2 separate regions of the Homo sapiens genome follow, and region 1 is linked to region 2. Evidence: promoter capture Hi-C in human tissues and cell types (Jung and others, 2019). All regions are on one chromosome and are shown on one strand. The core of a region is centred on a gene start or on the middle of the fragment in contact, and the rest is flanking DNA. Distances in the headings are between cores, read along the strand shown.

Region 1 (7,251 bases), core at 1,408-3,907, 200 kb after region 2:
CTTAAAGCTAGATGTTCTGAGGGAATTTTATCTTTTCTTTTTACAAAATCATGGTCCATACATGGTAAGAAAAGAATATAACTGAGTCAAAACATAAACCAACTATACACCTGTGTGTACATACAGTGAAGTATCTTTAAATAAACCCAGAGGATATAAAGGCATTTTTAGATTCTTACTGAACCATTCAGATTGAAAGCAAATGATATAAGGCCAAACTCTCCAATACCATTTTTTTCTCCTATACTCTGACTATTCATTATAAAAGGATTTCTCTGTATATATGTATCTGTACAAACATACGTGGTTACATTGTTAAAATTTTCCCACAGCTACTATTGCACTCTTGATTTTCTCTATTCTCTAAAGTTTCTTTTTTGTACAACTGAGCTAAATGGCTTTCAGTCTTTTCTGTAGAAGAAAAAAACAGAAAACCACCATTTATTAAAATCAGGCTTTTCTAAAAAAAGTTGTTAATTATAGAAAAGTATCTTAAATTATCTATCTCTTCATAGTTGTTGAAATATTTCCACTTATAATTTTATAAATCCAAATATTTGAAAAACTTTGATTTCCAGAAATATACAAGTATCAGGTATAGATTGATTCTGATAAGAAATGAATACCCATTAAGGACCACTTAAAATGAATTGGAAGCTGAATAAAGTAATGATACTAGACATCAAAGCTCAACTGCTGCCAGAGGTATGGTTTTCCAAAACAGGTAAATATGTGACTTGGGCTAAGGGATGAGGTAGTAATGAAAATTATAACTTAAAAAAATCGGTTATCTGCATGTAAGCATTAAAATTCAACCTACTGATTACTTAGATATCTAAGCCCAGAACATACATTTTATTTTCCTAAAGAGAAAAGGTAGTTTGCTTAAGTCTTCCTTCAAAAATAAATCCCCACCCTTGAGGCCTGATCACTCATGAGATCTGATCAAATTCCTCATCTCCCACTATCAATATGTCATCTCTCTGGCTTGTCTTCAGCAACTCCTGTTGAGTAGGTCTGGCAAGAATCCCCCAGCCATGACGTTTCTTCTTAGTAATTTTCCATCACTGACCCCCACCCTGCTCCTTCGCTACACATCTCCATTGGTCCTTGTGTATTCTGAGTTGAGCCCAATCTCTGCCCTCTAACACAAATCCTCATCTCAGTGGTCCCCTGAATAGTCTGCCTTACTGTCTTTAAGAAGTATCAGGAATATTTTTTTTTCTCCAGCACACTAAGTATAAAAGTACAACAAGAACTATACACACAGACAAACACTAAAAAGGCAGAGAGAAGGCAGACCAGTCAGGAGTGCTGTGACCTGCAGCTCCCTGGATCTTTCTGCCTTATATATCCAGAGGTAGAGCTGAAGAAGCCAACAACCAGGAAATGCCAACAGGCACAGACCAAAAAAGCTTCAACAGGAGCCCACTCTCTCTAGCCAAAGAAGCCTCCAAAGGAAAGGGACAGCCTAGCAACATAGAAACCTGTGGGACAACAATCACTCTATTCCAAAGACCATGTGGTCCCACTGTCACTCATGTCAGTAAAGACCAAGCGGCGGGCCCCATGCTCACCAGGTTGTGAGGAGGTGCTTCAGCCTCTCCTTGCTCCACTGGAAGGTGTCAGGGAAAGCCGAGGGAGGCAGGGCTATAATCTCCAACCATCAGCAATGAAGTCTCCCCTCCACAGTGTCACTAGAGACTAGGTGAGGATTCTAGAATTCCACCTCCATGGAGCAGTAACAGCCGTGTCTCCTGGTGGAGTCGGACCTTCACTACCGCACAGCAGTAACCAGGCCCCCCTTCCTTCACCCCCACTGTGTTAGTGGAGGCCTTCCTACCCTAACCAGGCAGGGATACACCAGTGAAGCCTAGTGGGGACATGAATACCCATCTCCACCTAGGAGTAACAAGAAGCCTCCACCCCTTGAGTGTCAGCAGGGTCCAAGTGGGAGAAACTGGACTTCTACCTCCACTGGGCAATACTGAGGCAGCACCCCATTCTTCCCCTGCTGGAGTGGTGTCAAAGAAAACCAGCTAAAACAGAAGTCTAAGTAAGACCCAGAGTCATATCGCATAACATCCAACATGTCCAGGTTTCAACTGAGAATCACTCAACATCCCAAGAACCAGGAAGACCTCAAACTGAATGAATAAAAGACAATTATGATTAAAGGCACAGCAGCGAACTGAAACATTCATCTTGCCAATAGGATTAGGTAATTAGGCAGCAACTGATCAGCTACCATAGCTGGACTACTGCTGGGCACCAGAAGTCAGAAACAGCTCTTAGAAGACATGCCAACATAGCTGCTCCCTCCCTCATCAAACTTGTCAGTAAGGCTTCATTAATTTCCTCTCCATTCCTGGAGTGGGATGGTTGAATCAGAGTGCGACTGTGTGTGTCTGGAAGTGACCTCAACTTAATCAGACCTCAACTCAATCAACTAGGAAACTTCTAGGGCAGGGCAACCTATTCCAGTCCCAGTTCTTGTAGTAATTTGACCATAGTGAATCCACAACTGGGTTCATTTAATACTCCAAAATTCATGGTTTGACCACAGTTTTATTTTGGTGGTGACTAAACTAACCCCACCTCCGGGAGATGAACTGACAGTACCTTTGGGCATCCTAAGCATGCTCTGGTAAGTACTTTTGACTTTCCTTCCAGTTTTTAGGTTCAGAAAAATTCATTCTTTGTCCCATGTTTCACCTTCCCATTTAGATTAATAGTAGTAAATGTTAATTTTATTAACTCAGTAATGTATCAATTTAGTAATTTTTACTTTTATCAATTTGAAAAATTAAACTTTATTATTTTTTAAATGTATTGATTTATTAATCAATATTAATAGACAGTTGGTATTTACTGTATCCTTGATTTTTTTAAAATTTTAATTTATGTCACTGTGGGTTACACTGTCCTAGAAATATATGGAGCCATACTGGCTAGTGATCAGTTCTAAATATATCAAGAGACAGGTTTATCGCTAAACAGGCTGACTTATCCCTGTTTAGATGTTTGTTATAAGCTAATCACTAATCATAACATACCAGTGTTTACTACTATAATTAGAAGGAAATAATCTACCAAAGAAAATAAAAATTTTAATAAAATGTCTACTGGTATTTTGAAGTATAATTTACCACCCAAATATACAAAGGTCACTTCCAGACACACACAGCCCCGCTATGATTCAACCATCCCACCCCATGAGTGGAGAGGAAATTAATGAAGCCTTAACGACAAGTTTGATTAGTTCATGAAATAAGTGTGTAACTTAAAATGGAGAGATTAACCTACTCAAGGGTTTTTTTGTTGTTGTTTCTTTAAAGGCACTACATATTTTTGCTTAGAGACTGAATGCAAAACAGATTTTTTAATGTAAGGTGCTTTTAAGGAAAATAGGCAAAATACCCGGGAATTAATAGGATTTGGACAGAATTCTTTTCTTGAGGGAGTGCTTTTCAAGACTACATTTATGTTAACTCTTTGGAGTATTCATGTAGCATTATCCTCATTTCCAGGAACAGAGCTTTATTAATTTATATATCAAATCAGCAAAATGGCTATGGGGTATATAAGATCACAATCACCTGTGATATATTGTGCCATAAATGCTTAAAGCATTTTCAACACATGTAAGACATGAAAAAAAGGTCTTAAAAACCCTAGAACTGCATAAAAACTCCTAGCAATGCATATCCAGTAGAGCCAATTCTGAAATCCATTACCAACAGGCTTACAGAGGGCATATGCTCATTGAACTATAATCTGTAAGGATGAAAAGAATGGCCTGTGTTAATATTTTAGTATGTGTCAGAAAACAGTAAAAAGTAAGTATAACTTGCCTATATTCTCTCTTAAGCAAGCTATTCCATTTTCATGGGTTTAAGTAGTATTTCTGTTCTGATGACTCCAAAATTATCATTTCTAGCTCTCATCTTTACCTGGAGCATCTCCAGCCAACGGCTTTCTTGATGTATCTATTTGGGTATAAATAACCTCGAATTCAACTCTACTAAAAATAAGCATGTTATATTCTCTTCCATATATGGCCTTTCTTCTTGATTACTCATTTTAATTAGGGAGACCACTTCCACTTACTTGGCCAGACCAGACATCTGACTGGCCAGTGGTCTGTGGGTAGTGACCGTGGGACCCAAGCATAGAAGAAACAGCACGGGAACCACCAATTACTTGTTCCTTTGCCACAGTGACCAAGAAGGCCTCATACTGAAAGAGCTAAAGGAGGAAATTTTTAGTAGAATTGGATTACTGAATTGCTGCATGGAGGGCAGCTTCCTCATAGAGCCGGCAAGATCTGCGGTGGACTTTGTGTAACCAAGAAATAAGCGTTTACTGTGTTAAGGCACTAAGATTAGGTGGTGTTTGATACACAGAATGGCCTAGTGAATACATTACTCCATCTCAACTACCCTATATTCTTGTCCTCATCATTTCATATTTGGGCAACTGGAATAGATTCTTAAACAGTCTCCCTGTTTTTAATCTTACCATCTTCTTACTCCAGGCTCCCCTTAACTTCCTCCATTAGCTGCCAGAGTGATTGATTTATCTATAAAAGAAAACTCTGAAAACATCGGTGAGACTAAAAGCCTCTCCATGGCTTGGCATCCCCTACAGGAGCAAGTCCAAGCTACTCTCAGCATTGTCAATCCAGGGCTCTCCGTGACCTGTCTCCTCCTGGCTCTGGAGTCTCACGTCACTGCCCAGGAGTAGTGCAGACTTGGTAATAAGAAGCCTTCTATGGCTCCCTGATCTCAGGATGCTTCATGCTTCAGCAACCCTGGCCACAATGATCCCTCTGCCTAAGAGCTCCTTTTCTAGCTCATTCATGAGGCTAATTTTTTTTTTTTTTTTTTTTTTTGAGACAGAGTCTCTGTCACCCAGGCTGGAGTGCGGTGGCGCAATCTCAGTTCACTGCAAGCTCCGCCTCCCGGGTTCACACCATTCTCCTGCCTCAGCCTCTCCGAGTAGCTGGGACTACAGGTGCCCACCACCACGCCTGGCTAATTTTTTGTATTTTTAACAGAGACAGGGTTTCACCGTGGTCTCGATCTTCTGACCTCCTGATCCGCCCGCCTCGGCCTCCCAAAGTGCTGGGATTACAAGCGTGAGCCACCACGCCCGGCCGAGGCTAACTCTTATTAGTCTCTTAGTATTCTCCTTTCTCCAAAAATATTATTTGACCTCTTCTGCCCCGAGGCTGTCTTAAGAATGTCTTCTTTGCATATATCAACAAATGCTAGTGATTAAGCAGAGATAATGTATTCACCTTTCTCCTTCAAATAAAGGGGAACCCTAATACCTTCAGGGGCAACAAGCTTGTCATACATGAAGGACTCGAGAAGCTGTGTTACCTACTCCATGTGTTAGTTTCCTGGAGCTGCCGTAAGAAATGATCACAAACAACATAAACACAACATAAATTTACTCTCTCACAGTTCTAGCGGCCCCAAGTCCAAAAGTATGGTGTTGGCAGGGCCATGTTCCCTGTGGAGATGCTAAGGGAGCATCCTTCCTTGCCTCTTTTGGCTTCAGTGACTGTGGACATTTCTTGGTTCATAGCCACCCAGTCTAATCTCTGCCTCTGCCTTTATATCACCTTATCTTCTGTATCTGTCTTCTCTCTGTCTCTCACAAGGACTTGTCATTAGGGTTAGGGCCCCACCTGGATAATCAAGAATGATCTCTTCTTGAAATCCTTAATTTAATCCCATCTGCAAAGACCCTTTATCCAAATATGGTTTCATTTACAGGTTATAGAAACTGGACGTGGACATAATGTTTTTTGGGGGCTATAAGTTTGGGGAGGGCATATGTTTTGGGGGGCATTCCATCTACTACAGCCTGCCTTCTAGTCCCACCAAATTCTTATCTGTCCCATACACAACATAGGTTCACCCCATTCCAGTATCCCCAAAAATCTTAACCCACTATGGCACAACTCTAAATCCAAAATTCCATCTAAACAGCATCACTTGAAAGTCCCAAATCTCCTCATCTAATTAATCTGAGTTGGGTATGAGGGAGACTAAGTATGATCCATCTTCTCCATCTGTCAATATGCGAAACAGAAAACAAGTTATCAGGTTCCAAAATACAACGGTGGGACCAGTATATGATAGACATTCTCATTCCAAAAGGGAAAAACTGGAAGAAAAAAAGGGCTCATCAGCCCCAAGCAAGTCTGAAATCCAGCAGAGAAAATTCCATTAGGTTTCAAGGTCTGAGAACAATCCTCTGACTCAAGGCTGTGCCCTCTGCCTGTGGTGGCTCCCCTGGCTTCTGCCTCTGGGTCCCTGGTTGCTCTGTTGACAGAAAATCTTTAAGTTTTGATTTTTTAAGATACAATTAATCAATACTGTCAGAATTCAGTAGAGCAGTTACTCCTGCAGGAATAGGCAGGGGATGGTACCTGAAAACGGAGTGTGAGAACTGGTTGCTGGGGTGTCGGCAATCATCTGCTTCCTGGATGTAGATGCTGGTTACATAAGTGTGTAAAATTTCACTGACATGTATACTTAGACATGTGTACTTTTTAATGTTTTTTTTTTTTTTGAGACGAAGTCTTGCTCTGTTGCCCAGGCTGGATGGAGTGCAGTGGTGCAATCTTGGCTCACTGCAACCTCTGCCTCCTGGATCCAAGCGATCCTCCCACCTCAGCCTCTGGAGTAGCTGGGATTACAGGTGTGCACCACCATGGCTGGCTAATTTTTGTATTTTTAGTAGAGACGGGGTTTCACCATGTTGGCCAGGCTGGTCTCAAACTCTTGACCTCAAGTGATCTGCCTGCCTTGGCGTCCCAAAGTGCTGGGATTACAGGTATAAGCCACCATGCCTGGCTGCATGCATTTCAATTAAAATTTTTTTTGTGACCGGGCACAGTGGTTTGCGCCTGTAATCCCAACACTTTGGGAGGCTGAGGTGGGCAGATCACAATGTCAGGAGTTCGAGACCAGCCTGGCCAATATGGTGAAACCCTGTCTCTACTAAAAATACAAAAATAGCTGGGCATGGTGGCAGGCACCTATAGTCCCAGCTACTCGGGAGGCTGAGGCAGGAGAATCGCTTGAACCCAGGAAGCGGAGGTTGCAGTGAGCTAAGCTCGTGCCACTGCACTCCAGCTTGGTCGAAAGAGCAAGACTCTGTCTCAAAAAAAAAAAAAAAAAAAAAAAAAAGGGCTGCATTGCAAGAAGCTTTAAGCAACAGAGGAAATGATCT
Region 2 (6,739 bases), core at 125-2,624:
AATGAAACCATTTTCCCTTTCTGATAAATCCGCTGGTCTTGTATCTAGTTGTGTGGATCCATAAATTAAAATACAGAGGATCATTTTCTCTGATCCAAAAATTCTTGGTTTGGGGGTAGTTAAAATGAAACTTCTGAAATTCTATCCTTAGTACGGACATTTAGGACCCAGGGGCTACATCCTAGAATGGAATTGTGCCCTGCTTCCATAAAACGGTTGATAAACCAACAGACACGACTGGATTGTCTTAAACCAAGTTCAACTGTCATTCCATTTTAATCAAAAAGTAAATTGGATTCAGCATATACGAATATATTGACTATCAGTACAACTGAGCCATACAACTGATAGTCTAAGGCTGATGACAAGGAGAAAGCTCCTAAAACAAGGCTTAGGGGAAGGCTGTTCCCCTGTAAGCAAAGCGGACTGAGGGCATTGGTGGCGCAGCAGCGTTCAGAAGTAGAGGGAAGTTTTGATGTATCAAGTACCGAGGGAAACACACACAGCGTGTCTGGAAACCATCAGAAGATGCTAGAAGGAAGTAGTCATGGATAATTCTAGAAATTTCTAGAACACCGACTGGAGGGGGTCATTGTTTAAGATGAGTACAGCCGAGTTTCTCTCCAATTTAAGACACAAGACTGGAGAGAAAGGCGTCGTAGTAAACAGCCCCAACCGGGGGAGCAGGGGGTGTGATAATGAGGCGTTAAGGGGCATTAGGGACAGTAAGAAAAGGAGAGTTGGGGTGACGATTATTGAGCACTGCTATAGGAGGCGGCTCTCGCAGGGATAATCAAGGGAGAGGGGTGTGAAATAAGGGTAACGAATTGCAGGGGTAAACTGTGGGAAGGGGCTGCGCAGACTTCAACAGCAAAGAAAAAGAAGGAACGGGGCTGGGGCGTGGCCCAGAGAGGGAACGGCTCAATAACGGGCTACCGGGTGAAAAGAAGCCGGGTGGGGAGGCGCTCTGCTGACAGCTGCCGCTCCCCCGTGGCGCCCACAGGGTTAAAAATCAGGGGCCACGGGACCAGGCCGAACTCGGTTTCCAGGGCAACGGCTCCACAGTTCCGGCAGCGCAGGCCCGTACCATTGCGCGGGCGCGGGGGAGCGGGAGCGGCGGAGGGGACGCGCTGCAGGGCGGCGGAGCCGGGGCCGGCCCGGGCGCTACCAAACGCACGGCCCGCCTGCTCGCCCGGGGTCTGCGCCGAGCCGCGCTCCGGCCGGACGGCCGCGGCGTCCTTGGTGCGGGGGCCGGCAGCTCCCAAGTGGCCGCGGACGGCGGGGGAGAAGGAACGCACGCCGCCGGCCGGGATTGGCCTCCTGGTCCCCCCGCCTGGGCGGCGGAGTGCGGGCGGCCCGGGGCTGGGAGGTTTGAAAAGCGGGCGAGAGACAAAGGCAGCAGGAAGCCTCCTCCGCGCCCGGAGCCCGTGCGCCCGGCCCCCGGGGCCCCCTCGCCGCCCGCCGGCCCGCGGAGCAGCGGCGGCGGCAGGAGGCGGAGGATGCGGCAGGGGGCGTGGGCGCGGCGGCGCGGGCGGAGCGGCGCGGCCCGGGCGCGGCGTGGGTAGAGCCGAGGCGGCGGCGGCGGCCGGCCTCCGGGAGCGAGAGCGAGGCGCCTTCCCCGCCCGGGATGTGAGCGCCGTGCGGAGCCCGGGGCGGGGGAGGGCCGGGCCGGAGGCGCAGCCGGCAGGAAGGAAGGACGGACGGACCAGGAGGAGGAGCGGCGGCGGCGGCCGGAGCCGGAAGGCGGGGAGGGGCCGGCCGTTGGGCCCGAGGCGGCGGCGGCGGCGGCGGCGGCGGCTGGGGAGAAGCGCTCTCGTCGCCTGCCCGAGGCCGGAGCGGCGGGGCCCGCGCCTCCTCCCCCCAGCGCCGCGGAGGGGGGAGGAGGAAGATGGAGACCCACATCTCATGCCTGTTCCCGGAGCTGCTGGCCATGATCTTCGGCTACCTGGACGTCCGGGACAAGGGGCGCGCGGCGCAGGTGTGCACCGCCTGGCGGGACGCCGCCTACCACAAGTCGGTGTGGCGGGGGGTGGAGGCCAAGCTGCACCTGCGCCGGGCCAACCCGTCGCTGTTCCCCAGCCTGCAGGCCCGGGGCATCCGCCGGGTGCAGATCCTGAGCCTCCGCCGCAGCCTCAGCTACGTGATCCAGGGCATGGCCAACATCGAGAGCCTCAACCTCAGCGGCTGCTACAACCTCACCGACAACGGGCTGGGCCACGCGTTTGTGCAGGAGATCGGCTCCCTGCGCGCTCTCAACCTGAGCCTCTGCAAGCAGATCACTGACAGCAGCCTGGGCCGCATAGCCCAGTACCTCAAGGGCCTGGAGGTGCTGGAGCTGGGAGGTTGCAGCAACATCACCAACACTGGCCTTCTGCTCATCGCCTGGGGTCTGCAGCGCCTCAAGAGCCTTAACCTCCGCAGCTGCCGCCACCTTTCGGATGTGGGCATCGGGCACCTGGCCGGCATGACGCGCAGCGCGGCGGAGGGCTGCCTGGGCCTGGAGCAGCTCACGCTACAGGACTGCCAGAAGCTCACAGATCTTTCTCTAAAGCACATCTCCCGAGGGCTGACGGGCCTGAGGCTCCTCAACCTCAGCTTCTGTGGGGGAATCTCGGACGCTGGCCTCCTGCACCTGTCGCACATGGGCAGCCTGCGCAGCCTCAACCTGCGCTCCTGTGACAACATCAGTGACACGGGCATCATGCATCTGGCCATGGGCAGCCTGCGCCTCTCGGGGCTGGATGTTTCGTTCTGTGACAAGGTGGGAGACCAGAGTCTGGCTTACATAGCCCAGGGGCTGGATGGCCTCAAGTCTCTCTCCCTCTGCTCCTGCCACATCAGTGATGATGGCATCAACCGCATGGTGCGGCAGATGCACGGGCTGCGCACGCTCAACATTGGACAGTGTGTGCGCATCACGGACAAGGGCCTGGAGCTGATCGCTGAGCACCTGAGCCAACTCACCGGCATAGACCTGTACGGCTGCACCCGAATCACCAAGCGCGGCCTGGAGCGCATCACGCAGCTGCCGTGCCTCAAGGTACTCAACCTGGGACTCTGGCAGATGACGGACAGTGAGAAGGTCAGGTGAGGGCGGCAGCACCAGCTCCCCTTGTCCCGCCCTGTTCATCCTCCCATTACCACCGCCCCCACACACTCACACGCACACTTACGCACAGATCATTGCAGCGGATGAGATGGGGCTATGACAGAAGCCTCAGGCTCGTTTCCTCCTCCCTCCTCCAGCCCCCTCCCGGCTTCCAGCCCATTCTCTTTGCAGCTGGGGTTCCTACCCTACCCTACTCCCAGCTCCTTTTCCCCGCGGATGGAGAGATGGACTCTGCTGCTTACCCACCCACTCCCCTGCAGGGGGTGGAGGACTGATTCAGCTACTGTATCCCCACTGCTGTGACTGGAAATGGGGGTGGGGAGTGACTGGTCTTTTCAACCCTGGGGAGTTGAGGAAAATGTCTGCTTTCACTTCAGCTTTCATTTGAATACTGTGATCTGGTTTTTATTTTGAAATGTATAAAAAGCAAACCCAGCTACAAAGGCCTTTTCACCCTTCCACTTTGTAACTAATCCCAGTCTCTTCTCATCACTCCTCCTCTTACAGTACTCTGCTATTCATGCTCATTTCATGTTCTTAATCTTCTTTCCTGTTTAAAAATTTTTTTTTGGAAAAAATTTGAAATCATGGTCCTTTTTTCTGCTGAATATATTCTATATATTATATATATATAAATTATATATATATATATATACATATATATGTCTGGCTACCTCGTTTTAGTTTACTTTTTTTCTGAAGCCCTGGAATTCTACAAGAGAGATATTTTGAGACTGAAACATGTTTGTGCCTAGACTGGAAAGATGCCCTTGGGTTTGTCCGTCTTTTTGTGTTGGCTTCTTCCCAGCCTCCATCCGTCCAGTGTGCCCCACTTCCACATTCTGGCTATAATTTCCTTTTTCTCCTTGTTCATTGGGATTTGAGGACCTATTTCTAAATCTTAATTTATAGCACAAATATGTGGGAGCAATGAGAGTTGAACCGTTGTTTTTGTTGGAGATGCAGATTGTGTCTTGAAAATGATGATTATATATGCAAATTCTGCCCTACCCTCACCCTCTTCCAAGTTTCCCCCCAAAAAGGTCACACAGTGCGGCTTCCTGTGGGAAACAGGAGCAGAGCTGGCCTGCAGAGCCCCTGGGGCTGTGATGAAGCTCATATCTTATCTCTGTTCTATTAACAAAATGGGAGTTTGTGGGTTTTAAAAAATTCCGTTTCTAAATGGAGGAATAGATGACTTTCTTTCTTTTGGTGGGGGTTGGGACTTGTGGCTTTAAAGAAATCACTTCTGAGTAGGATGTATATTTTCGTTGGATTTTTGTTGTTATTTCTTTAGAACCCTCCACAGCAACATGCAAGACCATGGAGTTAAAGAAACCCAGAGACCTTTATCAATTAATTGTACTGTTTGTGAATTTGTATAAATAATAACAAAGATCCTCTTAAAACGTTTATATTCTTACAGTAAAAGGTTAAACTGATATTTATATAATAAAAGAGGAAATATGAAGTATGTTTTTGAAAAAAAAAAAAAAAACAACAGCCTTGTATCTGCGAATTATTTTTAAGGCATTGTGTGCTTGGGTACATGCCAAGGTAGGAGGTGTTGTTTGTATACTCTAAGAGGACGCAAGGTGGAGTTTGGTGCATCCTATGTGGGGGTGAGTCAACTCATGGGTAGAATTTTATTCTGTATAAGGTTTACTACTGACATGTTTTGTTTCTAGAAATGTGATTAGACTGGAGATTTATATAATGTTTGGCTTTAAACTTTCAACAACGTGGAAATTTAAAGAAATTGAACAAAATGAAACTTTTTAAAAAACCAGATTTGTATGTAAGTCACAGTTTCCCCGAGTGGCCAGTTTTTCTTTGGGTGAAAATGAGATCTAGAGGTGATGTTGAAAAGTGGTTCACGACGTGGGCAAGAAAGATGGATTTTTTTTACCCTGAGAGTGGGTGTGGGGAGGATGTGAAGGTGGAAGGACTGAAGCCATTGTTGAGAAAAGTTAAAAGAGCGCTGTCCTTGCGTGCTTGCCGGCTCAGTCATGCATACTGAATCTCCCAGTGTGAGCGAGGGTCCGGGTGGAGAGGAGGAGGGCAGCTCAAGCCCTCTTTTTCACATTCCCCTCCAGGCCCGGCTGTAAGGAAGCACTTTCCTGGGGGATGGGGAGCTTGGCCAGGATTTTGCACATTTGCATTTTAGCACTTCCAATAGCCGAGGCTGGCCGCTGGATCCACTCTGTCAAGGGTTTTTAGACTGAAATCGGGGCAGATTAATGAAATACCAGAATTCCAGCAAGAGTTCCCTTTGGTAGACAGTAACAAAATAATCTGACACCCTGTGGTTTGGCTGTGGAGACCTATGGGTGTGAGTGCTCCAACAGGGGAGTGGTTCATATTCCTGGTTTCACATTGGTCTGGGTTGTTTCTGAGATTGTTAAAAAAAATACTGATCTCAGCAAGAGCTGATAAGAGTAGTATAAAACTTTCCTGGATCAACCCCTCTTTCCAGGAAGAGGGCTGGAACCCAGGTTTCTCTTGGGATAAGATTGTTTTGTAAAATGTCCAAGCTTTCTGCCTGAGCATATCACAAAAGCCGCATTGTTCCTTTTTGGAGAGTCATCACAATTGGGTCTAATTGAGCCTGACACTAGATCCATCTTCTGTTTCTTTGGGGAAGGTGTGGATCTCTTTCTTCCCACTTAGGTTACAGTGCTTAATGCCTGGAAAAAAAAAAAAGTGTGAAGCCTATTAAGAAGTAGGGACTCTGAATTAGGGTCAGCTTTCTAATCCAGCATTTGACACAACTCCTGAAGGTTACACGGCAGTGGGTTCTTAGTCTGTTTTTCTTCCAAGAGACTGCATGGCTGTACAGATTCAATTGATAAAAATTTGAGCACCCAAGTCTTAGGCTCTGTATTCACATTCTTCATTTTAATAGGCAAAATATTCCTACCACCTGTAACGTGAAGCACGTTCTTCTGTTTTGTCTCCTTTTTACGTTAAATGTTAAATATACGCTTGACTAAAGGTCGGCAAATTGATGTTTGAAAGTTACGACCATGGGTCTAGCTATATCCTTATCCTGAATGAGGCATACTTAGTATATAGCCGGAGCTTCTCTGGGAAAGATGATAAACCACCTAGAGTGGTTAGTGAAGGTCAACTGCTCATCTCTCAACCTTTTTGGATGGAAAGCAATTAACGTGTTGAGAACCTATGTGTGTTTTACAAGGTACTTGTAAGTTTTAATCTTCAAAGCAACCTGCTGAAACAGGTATTATCCCTGTTTTCCAGATAAGTCATAATTCCTGCCGTAAGTTACCCAACCAGTAAGTGAGGGAGCCAGGATTCAAACCTAGGCTCCATTTCTCCATTTCCCTCCCTCCCTCCCTCCCTTCCTTCCTGTCTTCCTGCCTTCCTGTCTTTTTTTTTTTTTTTTTTTGAGACAAGGTCTTGATCTTTTTTTTTTTTTTTTTTTTTTGAGACAAGGTCTTGATCTGTTGCCTAGGCAGGAGTGCAGTGGTACAATCACAACCCACTGCAGCCTTGACTTCCCAGGTTCAAGTGATCCTCCCACCTAGCCTCCTGAGTAGCTGAGACTACAGGCGCACACCACCATGGCTGGCTATTTTTTTTTTTTTTTGTATTTTTTTTGTAGAAACA

Evidence for each region. Contacts are between HindIII fragments. The study calls those that stand out against the background at their distance.
Region 1: a fragment that was not itself captured here is called in contact with the fragment with the promoter of FBXL14 in region 2 in 1 of the 25 tissues and cell types used here (H1 embryonic stem cells).

Annotation. Positions count from the first base shown.
Region 1 is chr12:1,385,989-1,393,239 of GRCh38, reverse strand. All of the region lies in intron 16 of ERC1 (ELKS/RAB6-interacting/CAST family member 1), which reads right to left. Among named protein-coding and RNA genes, the nearest start is that of LINC00942, 110 kb to the left of the region's middle. The HindIII fragment of the contact is 7,264 bases long and covers 1-6,289 here.
Region 2 is chr12:1,589,216-1,595,954 of GRCh38, reverse strand. It overlaps FBXL14 (F-box and leucine rich repeat protein 14), which reads left to right and starts at 1,374. Exons shown (of 2, transcript NM_152441.3): 1 at 1,374-3,082. The coding sequence starts at 1,889. RefSeq lists enhancers at 670-739, 2,110-2,299, 2,817-3,420 and silencers at 1,000-1,869, 2,850-2,899. The HindIII fragment of the contact is 15,118 bases long and covers 1-6,311 here.